Regions from separate parts of the Homo sapiens genome. Here region 1 is linked to region 2. The links are contacts of gene promoters, found by promoter capture Hi-C in blood cells and fetal thymus (Javierre and others, 2016). All regions are on one chromosome and are shown on one strand. Each heading gives the region's core, a stretch centred on a gene start or on the middle of the fragment in contact. The rest is flanking DNA. Distances are from core to core; before and after follow the strand shown. Region 1 overlaps ZNF346 (zinc finger protein 346). Region 2 holds the start of RAB24 (RAB24, member RAS oncogene family).

Evidence for each region. The method cuts DNA at HindIII sites, captures the fragments that hold promoters and counts their contacts. A CHiCAGO score of 5 or more calls a contact.
Region 1: a contact is called between a fragment that was not itself captured here and the fragment with the promoter of RAB24 in region 2, in 1 of 17 cell types (M1 macrophages). The highest score is 5.5, in M1 macrophages.

The regions. Positions count from the first base shown.
Region 1 is chr5:177,037,990-177,044,401 of GRCh38, forward strand. It overlaps ZNF346 (zinc finger protein 346), which reads left to right. Exons shown (of 7, transcript NM_012279.4): 2 at 3,137-3,240; 3 at 3,789-3,881; 4 at 6,400-6,412. Among named protein-coding and RNA genes, the nearest start is that of ZNF346, 18 kb to the left of the region's middle. RefSeq lists a silencer at 701-750. The HindIII fragment of the contact is 4,706 bases long and covers 1,394-6,099 here.
Region 2 is chr5:177,298,560-177,304,968 of GRCh38, forward strand. It overlaps RAB24 (RAB24, member RAS oncogene family), which reads right to left and starts at 5,160. Exons shown (of 8, transcript NM_001031677.4): 1 at 4,613-5,160; 2 at 4,450-4,518; 3 at 4,193-4,271; 4 at 4,018-4,085; 5 at 3,838-3,937; 6 at 3,569-3,619; 7 at 3,366-3,428; 8 at 2,639-3,248. The coding sequence starts at 4,729. The coding sequence ends at 3,184. PRELID1 (PRELI domain containing 1) reads left to right here and starts at 5,240. Exons shown (of 5, transcript NM_013237.4): 1 at 5,240-5,518; 2 at 6,066-6,291. The coding sequence starts at 5,427. NSD1 (nuclear receptor binding SET domain protein 1) reads left to right here. Exons shown (of 23, transcript NM_022455.5): 23 at 1-1,654. RefSeq lists enhancers at 2,851-4,050, 5,215-6,092, 5,731-5,830, 5,941-5,990, 6,011-6,070 and 4 more and silencers at 1,828-2,021, 5,051-5,120, 5,171-5,250, 5,361-5,500. The HindIII fragment of the contact is 8,255 bases long and covers 1-6,029 here.

The DNA.
Region 1 (6,412 bases), core at 2,497-4,996, 260 kb before region 2:
CAAACTCATCCCTGCCTCACAGACTTAATACTGTTTCAGGTTGGAACACTCTTTTCCTGTAAGCCTTGTGGCTGACACTTCCCCATGATGATTTTTTTTTTTTTTTTTAAATTTTCAGAGTCAAAGTCTTTCTCTGTTGCCTAGGCTGGAGTGCAGTGGCACATTCACGGCTCACTGAAGCTTCAAACTTCTAGGCTCAAGGGATTCTCCCACCTCAGCCTCCTGAATAGCTAAGACTACAGGCATGCGCCACCATGCCCAACTACGTTTTTTTTTTTTGTGTGTGTGTGTTTTTTAATTTTTGTAGAGATGTGGCTCTCCCTGTGTTGCCCAGGACAGTCTGAAACTTCTGGGCTGAAGCAATCCTCTTGCCTCAGCCTGTTGAGTTTCTGGGATTATAGGTGTGAGCCACCACAACCGGCCCTGTGATGGTCTTTACTAACTCTCCTGCCCCGTCATTCTCTACCCCGTACTCTGCTTGTTTTCATAGCATTTCTAATTCTCTGTCATTGTCTTGCTTATTTTTTACTTTATACCCCATCTTCTTTGTTGGTATGGCCCCCAGCACTAAGTGCAGTGTTGACACAAAGCACGTATTATAAATATATTTGTGTGGACTATGTGAATGTACTCTCTAAGGCCAGAGAGTGCATTCCAGCAGAGAGGTACATTTATTTAGCAGGTGCTTACCTGCCCTTGCTGTGGGTTTGGGAGTCTGATTCTGAATATGCTTGAAACCTCATCTCTTGAACAAAACAAAATCCACAATCTCCAGGTGAGGAAGTGATGACTGAACTCTGACCCCTGGGTATTACCTTCCCCATGTGGGTTTCTTATTGTGAGAAGCCTCTGACCCTCTTTTTTTTCTTCTTTTTTCTTCTTCTTCTTGTGTGTGTGTGTGTGTGTGTGTGTGTGTGTGTGTGTGTCCGAGTTTTGCTGTTGCTCAGGCTGGAGTGCAATGGCACAATCTCGGCTCACTGCAACCTCTGCCTCCCAGGTTCAAGTGATTGTCCTGCCTCTGTCTCCCAAGTAGCAGGGATTACAGGCATGCTTCACCACACCCGGCTAGTTTTGTATTTTTAGTAGAGATGGGGTTTTACCATGTTGGCCAGGCTGGTCTCAAACTCCTGACCTCAGATGATCCACCCACCTTGGCCTCCCAAAGTGCTAAGATTACAGGCATTACCAATCGTGCCTGGCCACCTCTGACCCTCTTTTAAAAGTTCTGGGCCAATTTTGTTTATAGAGTCATTTCTCTTGGTTTTTCAGAGCATAGCTAAGACAGGCAAGGTCTTTCACAAAAATTTACCATTTAAAAGAAAAATGCAGAAATAAAAAGAGATCATTAGGGGCAGAAATACAGCCCTTCTGCCTAAAAGGGCTGACATAGGTAAGCTTTAGATTTTGTGGATTAAGGAGAGACATCTTAAAAGCTCCCCACCAAGAACCTCTTCCAGGGCATCGACTTTTTTTTTTTTAAGACAGGGGCTTGCTCTGTTATCCAGGCTGGAGTACAGTGGCACTAACATGGCTTGCCATAGCCTTGACCTCCTGAGCTCAAGCAATCCTTCTGTCTCTGTCTCAGCCTTAGCCTCCCATGAAGCTGGAACCACAGGCATGTGCCACCACCCCCGGCTAGTTTTTGGTTTGTTGGTGTGTTTGTTTCTATGTAGAGACAGAGTCTCACCATCTTGCCCAGGCTGGTCTCAAACTCCTGGGCTCAACCCATCCTCCCACCTCAGCCTCCCAAAATGCTGGGATTACAGGTGTGAGCCACTGTGCCTAGCCTTGACCACTTTTTGGCTGAGACCAGGAGATTAAAAATGTGGGCCTGCCCTCCTCTCCCAGTTTTAGACTCTGCCTCTGCCTCTGCCTCACATTGCCAGCGCCATGATAGAACTCATGCCTTGGCCGGGCGCGGTGGCTCACGCCTGTAATCCCAGCACTTTGGAAGGCCAAGGTGGGTGGATCACGAGGTCAGGAGATCGAGACCATCCTGGCTAACACGATGAAACCCCGTCTCTACTAAAAATACAAAAAAATTAGTTGGGCGTGGTGGTGGGTGCCTGTAATCCCAACTACTCGGGAGGCTGAGGCAGGAGAATGGTGTGAACTTGGGAGGCGGAGCTTGCAGTGAGCCGACATCATGCCACTGCACTCCAGCCTGGGTGACAGAGCGAGACTCCCTCTCAAAAAAAAAAAAAACAAACAAAAATGAACTTATGCCTTGGGAGAGATTTTACCTCCTCTTCTCTTCTCAAAAAGGTAAGACTGTTCTCCAGGCACAATAATTTAAGCACAGGTTAATACCATGTTTCATATAGTGTGGCACTTATATAATACGTTATGTGATTTTATTTTATTTATTTATTTAGAGACAGAGTCTAGCTCTGTCACCCAAGTTGGAGTTAGTGGCACAACCTCAGCTCACTACAACCTCTGCCTCCTGGGTTCAAACAATTCTCCTGCCTCAGCCTCCCGAGTAGCTGGGATTATAGGTGCCTGCCACCACACCTGGCTAATTTTTGTATTTTTAGTAGAGACAGGGTTTCACCATGTTGGCCAGGCTGGTCTCGAACTCCTGATCTCAGGTGATCTGCCCACCTCGGCCTCCCAAAGTGCTAGGATTACAGGCGTGAGCCACCACGCCCCACCCTGTTATGTGATTTTAAATGTTTCAAAGTCAGATCAAGAACAATGAGAAAAGTATTCCTTTTTCGAGTCTTTCAGTCCTCCTGATTCTATCTGGGAAGAAGTTTCAGTTGGGTGCTACCATATCTTAAAACCTCTCAGCACAGTTGCTGTTCTCTTCTTCCTGGGGAATGCTCCAAGCCTCATTTTTATCATATTTATTTTTATTGGTATCTGCTTAAGTTTATGATCTAAAGATTCCTTTTTAAAAGAAGTTCCTAAGTAAAGAAAGTTGGCATACATAAAATTATAAAATAAGTAATAGTGTAGGTGGTGTGAGAACACAGCATGAGTCACGGTGGCAGTAGGAAAGGCTGGCTGAGGTCTGCCAGTGTCCTAGTATGGCATCCCATCATTCAGTGCCTGTGTTTGAGGCAGGGTTCAAAGGCAGTGCTGTTGAGGTAGTGTTTGTCAACTCAATGATTTCTTGTTTTCCCCTCTATAGTGGAGCACATGATCCAGAAGAACCAATGTCTCTTCACCAACACCCAGTGTAAGGTTTGCTGCGCCTTGCTTATTTCTGAGTCCCAGAAGCTGGCACATTACCAGGTATGCCATCATACTTTTAGAACTGCGTTTCTTTTCAGACCTGGTGCCAAACCACTAATTCTCTCTGGCTTGCATGGTGAAGTGTAATTGCTGCTTAGCCACCCAGATGTTGCCTCCATGCATGTTGGCTTGTGACTTGAAGATTGACTTAATCTCCTTGAGTCTCATCTCCCCCATCCAAATCAGGATCATTATATGTGTATCTTCCCTTGCAGCTTGGCATAGCATAAAGTATGAGCTTTGGCTTTAAATAGATCTGACTTTAAATCAAAACTCTGCTACTCATCTTGAGCAAGAAACTTCATCATTTTTAGATGTAGTTTCCTCATCCATAAAATAGAAATGGTCATAATTTTCTCATAGATTGTGAAGATTAAATTTGGTAGCTGTAAAATGCCTTGCACAGAGCAGGAACTCAAACTTCCCTCACCTCCTCCTCAAAACTTTTTGTGAGGATGAATCAGATGAAAATCTCATAAGTGTTTTTGAGTGCCTTAAGTATGAAGTAGCATTTGGCTATCTTTGATCTTTCTCCTGGGTTTTTGCAGAGCAAAAAACATGCCAACAAAGTGAAGAGATACCTAGCAATCCATGGAATGGAGACATTAAAGGGGGAAACGAAGAAGCTAGACTCAGATCAGGTAATACAGCTGCCATATTGAGCCCACTTGCTTCATGATGAAGCCAGCCAGCAGGTTGGTGTGGTGAACAAGTCAGACTGTCTTGGCTTCAAATCCTGGCCCTGTTGTGTGACTCGGGCAAGTCTATTACTTCACAAAGCCTTGATTTCTTCCTCTATAAAAATGAGGATGGTAATATCAACTACCTTTCAGGATTTTTTAGAACTAAAATTGAGGGCAGATTTATAAAAAGCACCCAATTCAGAGCCTGGCACATAGTAGGGACTCAGTAATGGAGCTGGTATTACATATTACCGCCTAGTGGTTTGTTAGAGCAAGACAAGAGAAAATGGAAAGAAGCCAGGCTGCTTGCTTTCTTGAGGGCCAAGGAAAAGAACTAAGTTCAGCACTTGAATGTTTTGCATAAATAAGCAGAAGGAACACCTTTCCAAATGTCTGCTGTGATTGAGAGGTGATCACATGTGCTTTTTGGCTCAGAAATAATATGAGCATTATGCTGAAGCAACCCCCAATCCCTCAGGAGTACCATCTCATCATGGGAAGAGAAGTTAAGCAGACTAGGGCTCAAAGCTGGCTGTGTGTCTTACTGATCGGGTGAGTTTGGCCAAGTCACTTAACCTCTGTGAACTTCCCCCATAAAGTAGAGATAATGCCTACTTCTTAAGGGTATTGTGAGGTAAAATTTCAATTCCTAGTAGATGCTCAATAAATAAGAGTTTACTCTATAGACTGCTACCTCCTATTATAGTAGCCACAGGTCAGGAAGGTCCTTGTTTATCTCTTCTCAAAATTTACTGGACTCATCCCCTGGTTTCCCTTATTATTTATTTATTTATCCCTGGTTTCCCTCCTTTCTATTTCTCTATCTGTCTATTTGTGAGACAGGACCTGGCTCTGTTACCCAGGCTGGAGTGCAGTGGTGCAGTCACGGCTCACTGCAGCCTCAACCTCCCAAGCTCAAGTGATCCTCCCACTTCAACCTCCCAAGTAGCTAGGACTACAGGCACACACCACCACGCCTGGCTAACTGGAGTGCAGTGGCACGATCTCAGCTCACTGCAACCTCCACCTCCTGGGTTCAGGCGATTCCCCTGCCTCAGCCTCTGAAGTAGCTGGGACTACAGGCACGCGCCACCACACCCAGCTAATTTTTGTATTTTTAGTAGAGATAGGGTTTCACCAGGTTGGCCAGGCTGGTCTCAAACCTCTGATCTCAAGTGATCTGCCTGCCTCAGCCTCCCAAAGTGCTGGGATTACAAGTGTGAGCCACTGCGCCCAGCCGCCTGGCTGATTTTTTAAAAAATTTTTCGTAGAGACAGGGTCTCGCTTTGTTGCCCAGGCTGGTCTCAAATTCCTGGTCTCAAGTGATCCTCCCACCTCAGGCTCCCAAAGTACCAGGATTACAGGTATGAGCCACCACACCTGGCCCTTTTCTCACAATTTATAATTCAGAAAGGCAAGATAAACTCTATGACCCTGGGCAAGTTATTTTACATATTTGCACCCTATTCAGAGATCAGGCTTTCTGAGAGAGATGCTGGGATCCCTTTATGTAGTCTTGAAATACATGGTTTCCTAGCCTAATCATAATCAACAAGTAGAACGCAATGGGAGGCTGGGTGCGGTGGCTCATACCTGTAATCCTAGCAATTTAGGTGGCTGAGGCAGGCGGATTGCTTGAGCTTGGGAATTCGAGACCACCCTAGGCAATATGGTGAAACCCCGTCTCTATAAAAAATACAAAAATTAGCCGGGTGTGGTGGCATATTCCTGTAGTCTGGCTACTTGCAGGGGTGGGTGGGAGAATTGCTTGAGCCCTGGAGGTGGAGGTTGCAGTGAGCCGAGATCGTGCCACTGCACTCCAGCCTGGGCAACAGAGTGAGACCCTGTCTTAAAAAAAAAAAACCTAATGGTCCACTTGTTCAGCAAACTCTGAGCATCTACTGTGTGCCAGACTCCAGCTGGGTGTGAAGGATAAGAAACAAAAATGAGTCAAATAGTCCGTGTTCCAATGTCACACTTGAGTTCACAGAAAAGTCTCCTAAGCTATGACACTGTCAGTTTAGGGTGGCAAGTGGTATGACAGAGGTCTATTTAATGTACTCTGGGAGCACAGAAGAGGAGCAGGGTTAATTCTTCCTGGAATACACAAAGGGACTTGACAGTTGTTTACTGAATGATGTTTTTTTTTTTTTGAGAGAAAGTCCCCCAGAGGAAAAGCTTATATTTAAATTGGGTCTTGAAGGCTAAGCAGACACGCTGCCAAGCAGGAAAGGAAGGAAGCACATTTTAGACAGCAGGAATGGCCAAAGCAAAGCAAGGAAGCATCAGAGAATAAAGTGGGGGATGGTGAGTAGAGTCTGGGACAAAGTAGCTGGAGAAGAATCTAGAAAGTAGGTTGGGGTTAATGTGTGAGGGGGGCCATAAATGCCTGTTCTGTTATGGGCAGTGGGGAACCATTGAAGATTTTCTGGTGGGGCAGTGGTATGATCAGACCTGTGTTCTTTCTTCCAACCAGAAGAGCAGCAGAA
Region 2 (6,409 bases), core at 3,910-6,409:
GAGTTTGAGATGACTTAAATCACTGTGTTGACCCTCTTCTGAACCAAATCTTTAGCATTGATGAAAATAGTTATTTTATTCTTTACATCCTTCACCCCACACTATGGTCAGGGCATGAAACACCCTGTTGATCCCTTCCCAGGCTCGGCACTGTCTGCTCACTGGAGCCGGACTCCCAGGTTGTAATTCTAATGTTGCCTCATGAGAACAGAATGGCAGAAAGTTTAGTCCTGACAGATTCCCCCATAGGGAGTAATGAGGACAGCATGAAACTTGGATAGGTTTTACCCTTAGTCCCTATAAGGTGGATTTTACTAAGGTTTTTTAAATGATACTGTCATCCTCTTGGGGTTTATCAGCCAGGTTAGAGGAGCCCAGTGTCCTAACCTCTCTCAGATCATGGCAGAGAAGGAGCTGCCTCCAGCCCCTTTCTTGCTGAGTTTCATTTGAGCAGTTCCATGTGTAGACATTCCAAGTCACTGCTTGGTAGTTGCTGTGGGAGCCTGTCATTGGCTATGGCCAGTTAGTTCTCAGCTGAGCTTCCTAGGGCCAGTGCAACAGGGCCAGAGGCTGCTATAGTGTAAATTGAAATAAGAATAGATCATTGTTTTGTACACACACACAATAAAATGTAATGATGGTGCTAATTTCACGGTATAAATAAGCACTGCCAAGGGTTGAGGGACTGGCAGCTCAAGAAACCCGGGTTCCTGTTTGGGAGGAGATTTTATGTAGAAAAGTTTGAGGCTTTGTTAAAAGTGGGGAGAAGGAAGATCCTCAGTGAAGCCTGCACCCAACCCTGGAGTGGCCCAGTGCAATCCAGAGGTGGAAGAGATCCTATATCCAGGTGAAGGTGGCCATTGAGTTTCTCAGGGCTGGGGCCACCTTGTCCATAGCCTCCGTCCACGCTGCCTGGAGCAGGTTGTTAGAGAGCTCTGGTTGTTGGGTCTTCCTCAGCTCCCTTCTGCCCCTCTCTACCTCTTCCACTCATGGAAGCCCCTCTACTGCTTATGAAGATTAAGGGTAGTATTTTCTAAGGAAGTGGAAAGAATTAAACTAGAAATCCACAACCTCGGAAGAAGTGTTTCGAGTTTAACATGCGCTGTTTCTGCTTATGTGGTTCCTTCTCTAGAGCTGCTTTCCCATGGCTTTCAAAACATCAGGTTATTGTGGGGCTTCAGGTGTAAGGTCCTGGAAGTTCAGCAAAGTTTCGTGGACAAGACATGGGCACAGAGAGTAGAAGCAGAAATAAATGGTTCTATGTTTTCAACTTCCAGGGTTGGGGCAGGCCAGAGCAAGGCGGTCTCATCGAGGTGGGTGCTACCTGTGTGTGTGTAGATGAGTGTGCTGAAGGTGGGGAGGGCAGCACACAGCAGCTCATGGCAGAGCCGCCTCCTAGGTCTTGGCAAAGAGGCAAGCTGACGATAGACATCTACCTATATTGTTAAGAAAGGGGTCGGGGGGATCAGCCAAGGTCCATCATTGCTTTTTTGCCGCGCCCCCCCCCCCCCGCCCCCATAGATTGTCAGCTGTAAGTGAAACTCCTAGTGAAAAAGAGGGGAGCCCTGTGTTAGGAGTCCCCATAAACATGTACTGTAATTCTTTGTATATAGAAAAAAAATTTACTGTAAAGTAAAGTTTAACTTTACTCATATATGGCCCTTGCCCTGTGTTTTGTTTTATTGGCTGTGGGGAGTTGTAGTCTAACAGGAGGGAGGATTGTTTGGGGTGAGAGCAGAAGCCAGCCCCAGAGATAGTACGAGGTGGGGGGCGGGGGGCGCAGGGATACTGTGAAGCTAAGCCCTTCCTCCAAGCACGTCATGGGAATAGTGTGTTTCCTCTCAGCAGCCACAGGGCTGCCCAAGCCTCTTTCTCCCTCTGTTGGGAGTGGCTGGTTTCAGTTTCAGTCTCCCTCCACAGGAAGCCCCCATCACTCATGAAGGAAGGGCAGTTTGAGGAATTGGTTTTTAAAAAGGAAGTGGAACCAAAGCACTCTCTGAGTGTGAGTCTGACCATGTTGGCTAAGTTGTACATTTTTCCAAGGCAGGTGTTGGCCACTGCAGAGGACTCAGCCCAGGCCTAAATAAAGGCAGGAAAGCAGAGGCAAAGGATAAAACTAAGGGAAAGCCCCTGGCCTGGGGCCACACCCTCCATACCAGAAAGGGCTGCAATAAATTTCCTTCTGGTTGAGCAGCAAGTGTCAGCCCTGTTTACAGTTAACACCTGATTCCTCAGAAATATCTGGATCTTCTTTGGGGAAAACTTGGGAGTTTGCTTCCCTTTGTGACCTAGTCCTGAACTTCCTGCCCTTTCAGCAAAAAGTGCTTGGGAAGATTGGGAAAAACATTTAGTACTAGAGTTACTCTTCACTTTCTTCACAATCCTTGGGCTGCATAGTAGTCACCTTATTTTACAGATGAGAAACTCAAGATGAGGATTTAAGTCCCTTTTCTAAATTAGCAGCTGAATTGGAACCAAATCTGGATCCATTAGACCTTTCTGGCTTACAGAACTTAGGACTTTCCTACCATTAAACCACATTGTAGGATGTCACTGGGAAGCTCAGGACCTGAGTCACAGGTCTGACATAGGGGCCCAAACATGACAGATGCAGTAGAGCTAGTCAGACCAACCTGTCTCAGGTAGGAATGCTTGACCCTTTTATTTCGAAGCAACTCATGCACTCTTTTCAGCACTCAGAAGGAACTGTGAGCTTTTATACTACTACAGCCCCAGTATCTCAGCGGTAACCATGGGGAAAAAAGTCTTGTTTTCCAAAGGAAAATGAGAGTTGGGAGGAGCCTTAATATAAGCAGTGAGGCCAGCCGGGTGGCCCCAGGAAGAACTAGGTGTCTTGACACCTAATCCACACAGCAGGGAAAGGGGCTGGGTGTGATGCACAGTGCACTGATTTTATTTACAGATCAAAAGCCACTTAAATAATCTGCAGACACAAGTGCTGTCCAGGGCAGAAGCCTGGGGTCCAAATCAGCCTTATCCCTCCTCATGCCCACAGTCAGCCCAATGCTGTCTCCGTTCCATGGGCCAGCACAGGCAGGCGCCACTCTGCTGACATGAGGACCTGGGGTAGCTCAGACATTTGACTACCCAAGCCCAGAAAGGAGCTGGGTCCAGCCCTTACGGGGAATTCCTTTAATTCCCCCAGGCCAGGTGAGTGCTGACTCAGTGATGACAACAGCTGTAGAAGTAGGGGTTTGGCTTCTGGCCCAGATCCACGCCCTTGTCCTCTGTCAAAAAGAGAGGTGGCAGCTCAGCACCATTCTGTTGGGATCAGGTAACTCAGGAAAGGGGCTAGATGCTGTGGGCCTAGAGTAAGTCTCCATAAAGGCTGGGGAAGCACACACCTGTCATCACCTGGAAGGCAGCCACACTGACGTAATCCTCTGCCACTTTCTGGAAGAGCTCGTCTGGCAGGAAAAATGATGATCAGCGAGGGCCCAATGCCAGTAGCCCTGGGATCTCCCAGTGACCCAGCCCTCTGTGCCCTATTCAGCTTCCTCTGGTGCCCCTGCATGTTCCTGCTGTGAGGCTCCAGCACAGCACTCACCCACACTCTGGCCTGTCTTGCTGGATGTTTCAAAGAGCTGAGCTTTGATATCTGTAAAGAGAAGTGACTAAAGCCTCATACCTGAGAATTAGATAAACAGACAAAAGGGAGGGCTAGCAGTTCAGGGAGTCTCCTGGACCCCACAGTTCAAGGAGGCCAGGAAGACCTCCTAGAGCACCTTGCCCTGGCAGCCAAGGCAGTCCCTATTTTCTTTGATCCACCCAGACAGCCACACACCCCCACCCCCCAAAGGGCTGAGGAGCAGCTACTGTCTGCATAGTCCTGGACGTCGTGGAAGTCCACACGTCGACGCCTCCGGTCTTCTTCCAGCAGGTCACTCTTGGTGCCACATAAGTAGATTTGGCAGCCCTGAGGCAGAAGACAAGGGTCACCTCCACAGGCCAACAAAACCCCAGCCCCTAGTGTTCTAGTGAGGTCTGTTCACCTACCTCCTCTAGGCTGCGCAGTTCCTTCACCCAGAACTTTGCTCGCTCAAAGCTGCTGCTGTCTGTGAGGTCTTGGTGTGCGGCATGCAGGAGACAACCAAGTGGTCAAGGGCTGTTCTCTGGCTAGCCTGGCACCCATCTTTTCTTGTGAGACAGCCCAAACCCCCCCCCCCCTTACCATAGCAGACGATGGCAGCCTTGGCACCCCGATAGTAGATTCTACTCATGGCCTCATAGCGCTCAGAGCCTGCTGTGTCCTAAAGAGTAAGGCCTGAGTCAAACTTAAGGCCACGTTCTCCAGACCCCGCTATTTTCCAGATAAGGAAACGGGTCTATGAGAAATGGGTCTGTGAGGCCACAAATCAACCAGTAATAGGCAGGACCTACACCTCCTCAGGAATGAGTCTCCCAAGAATAGATGGCCGGGGGACTTACCCAAATACCTAATGTCACAGTCCGGTCTCCGACCGACATCACCTTGGCCACGAAGGCGGCCCCGATGGTCTGCAACGAGAGGGAAGAGATCGGGGCCATAGGTGCAGATTACCGGCCCCCCACTCCCCCGCCCACCGTGCCTGGCCCCTCCGGATGCACTCACGTTCTGATAAGGCCCCACCAGAAAGCGGTCGTGCACGTAGCGCTCCACCAGGCTAGTCTTGCCCACGTACTCCTTGCCCAGCATCACCACCTTGACGTCCACGCGCTGCCCGCTCATGCTCCCGGGGCCGCTTCAGCCACGTCAGGGTCCTGAGCGGGGACGGGAGGCAAACCCCGATCTCCGCTCGGCCCAGGCAGCGCCCAAGCCTCAGACCCCGACCCCAAACGGCGCCAACCTACGACTCCAGACAGCGCGTCGGGCTCGAGCTCTGGCCGTGGCCTTGCACTTCGGCAGCGCCCCGTGTGCCCCCGCTGTTCGGCCCCGGGCGCCGATTATCCTTCGAAGACCCCAAGCCTCGGGGCGGCCTGGGAGCGCGCGGGACAGCGTCCTCAACAGCGCAGCACGCCGCCGTGCAGCTCGCTACTCCGTCATTCGCTCGCCTGCCCGGCTTAAGCTCCGTTCTGGCTGGGAATCCCAACCGAACCTGGGGTCTCCCGCAACCCGGCTCCTACCCGCAGCGCCGCGACTCCCGCGGGAGGGGGCTAGAGGGCGAGGGGGCGGGGCCGCAAGGTCACGTGGCGCGGGCGCCGGAAGCGGTGGCTACTGTGTGGCTGCGCCGGAAGTGGCGCGCGGCCGGACAACTCATGGCGGCGGCGGCGGCGGCGGCAGCTGCTTGGGCGCGGTGCGGTGGTGACTGAGCTACGAGCCTGGCGGCGGGTGTGCGCCGAGCCCCGGCCCGGCCCGGCCCTCGCGTGCCTCCCAGGCTCCGCACCCCTGATGCTGCGCGGGTGCTGAGCCCGCTTCGGCCGGGACGATGGTGAAGTATTTCCTGGGCCAGAGCGTGCTCCGGAGTTCCTGGGACCAAGTGTTCGCCGCCTTCTGGCAGCGGTACCCGAATCCCTATAGGTACGTGGTATTTGGAAGAGCAAAACCGCGCCATCTCGCTATCTGGAGATCGAATTATGGGTAACCCCCAAGTACTGGGACCAGGAAGGACTCGATATCGAATCCTAGGTAGACCTTATCGGGGAAGCGGCCAGGCCAGGCCTGCAAGGTCCTGAAGGGAGGTTGGGCCTGGGTGGTGGTTTACTTGAGACCTTAGTGTAAGATTCTTTTCTCAGTGTGGTGAGACAAGAAGAGGCGGCAGTATGGGAGTTGGGAGGGATCTTGGAGTTGGAAATCCTATTTCTCTGCCCGTGGCGCTTTCCTGGGGTGCAATAAATCATGAGGTCCATTCCTGCTAGAAGGCAGGAATCCAGGTCAGTCAGATGGCGGGAGTGGGAATTTGCCCTGGGATGGGCCCTTAACTCTGGTTTGAACCATAGCACATACCACCCTGCAAGGTTACGGGAAGGCGTGGCCTCTCTAGGCCCGGAGCCTCCAAATGGGAATCCCCTCGGGCAGTCTCTTAGGGGCAAGCTTCTGAGGGTCACCTTCACCCTGACACCTGCAGCAAACATGTCTTGACGGAAGACATAGTACACCGGGAGGTGACCCCTGACCAGAAACTGCTGTCCCGGCGACTCCTGACCAAGACCAACAGGATGCCACGCTGGGCCGAGCGACTATTTCCTGCCAATGTTGCTCACTCGGTGTACGTCCTGGAGGACTCTATTGTGGACCCACAGAATCAGACCATGACTACCTTCACCTGGAACATCAACCACGCCCGGCTGATGGTGAGACACCTCCTGTTGTGATTCTGCACCTCCCCCTCTCCCCTCCCCCCGAGATAGAGAGCTCCTCAGATACATGTGGCTAGAGAGCCATAAGGCAGCTTTTGTGGCCGGAGGCAGG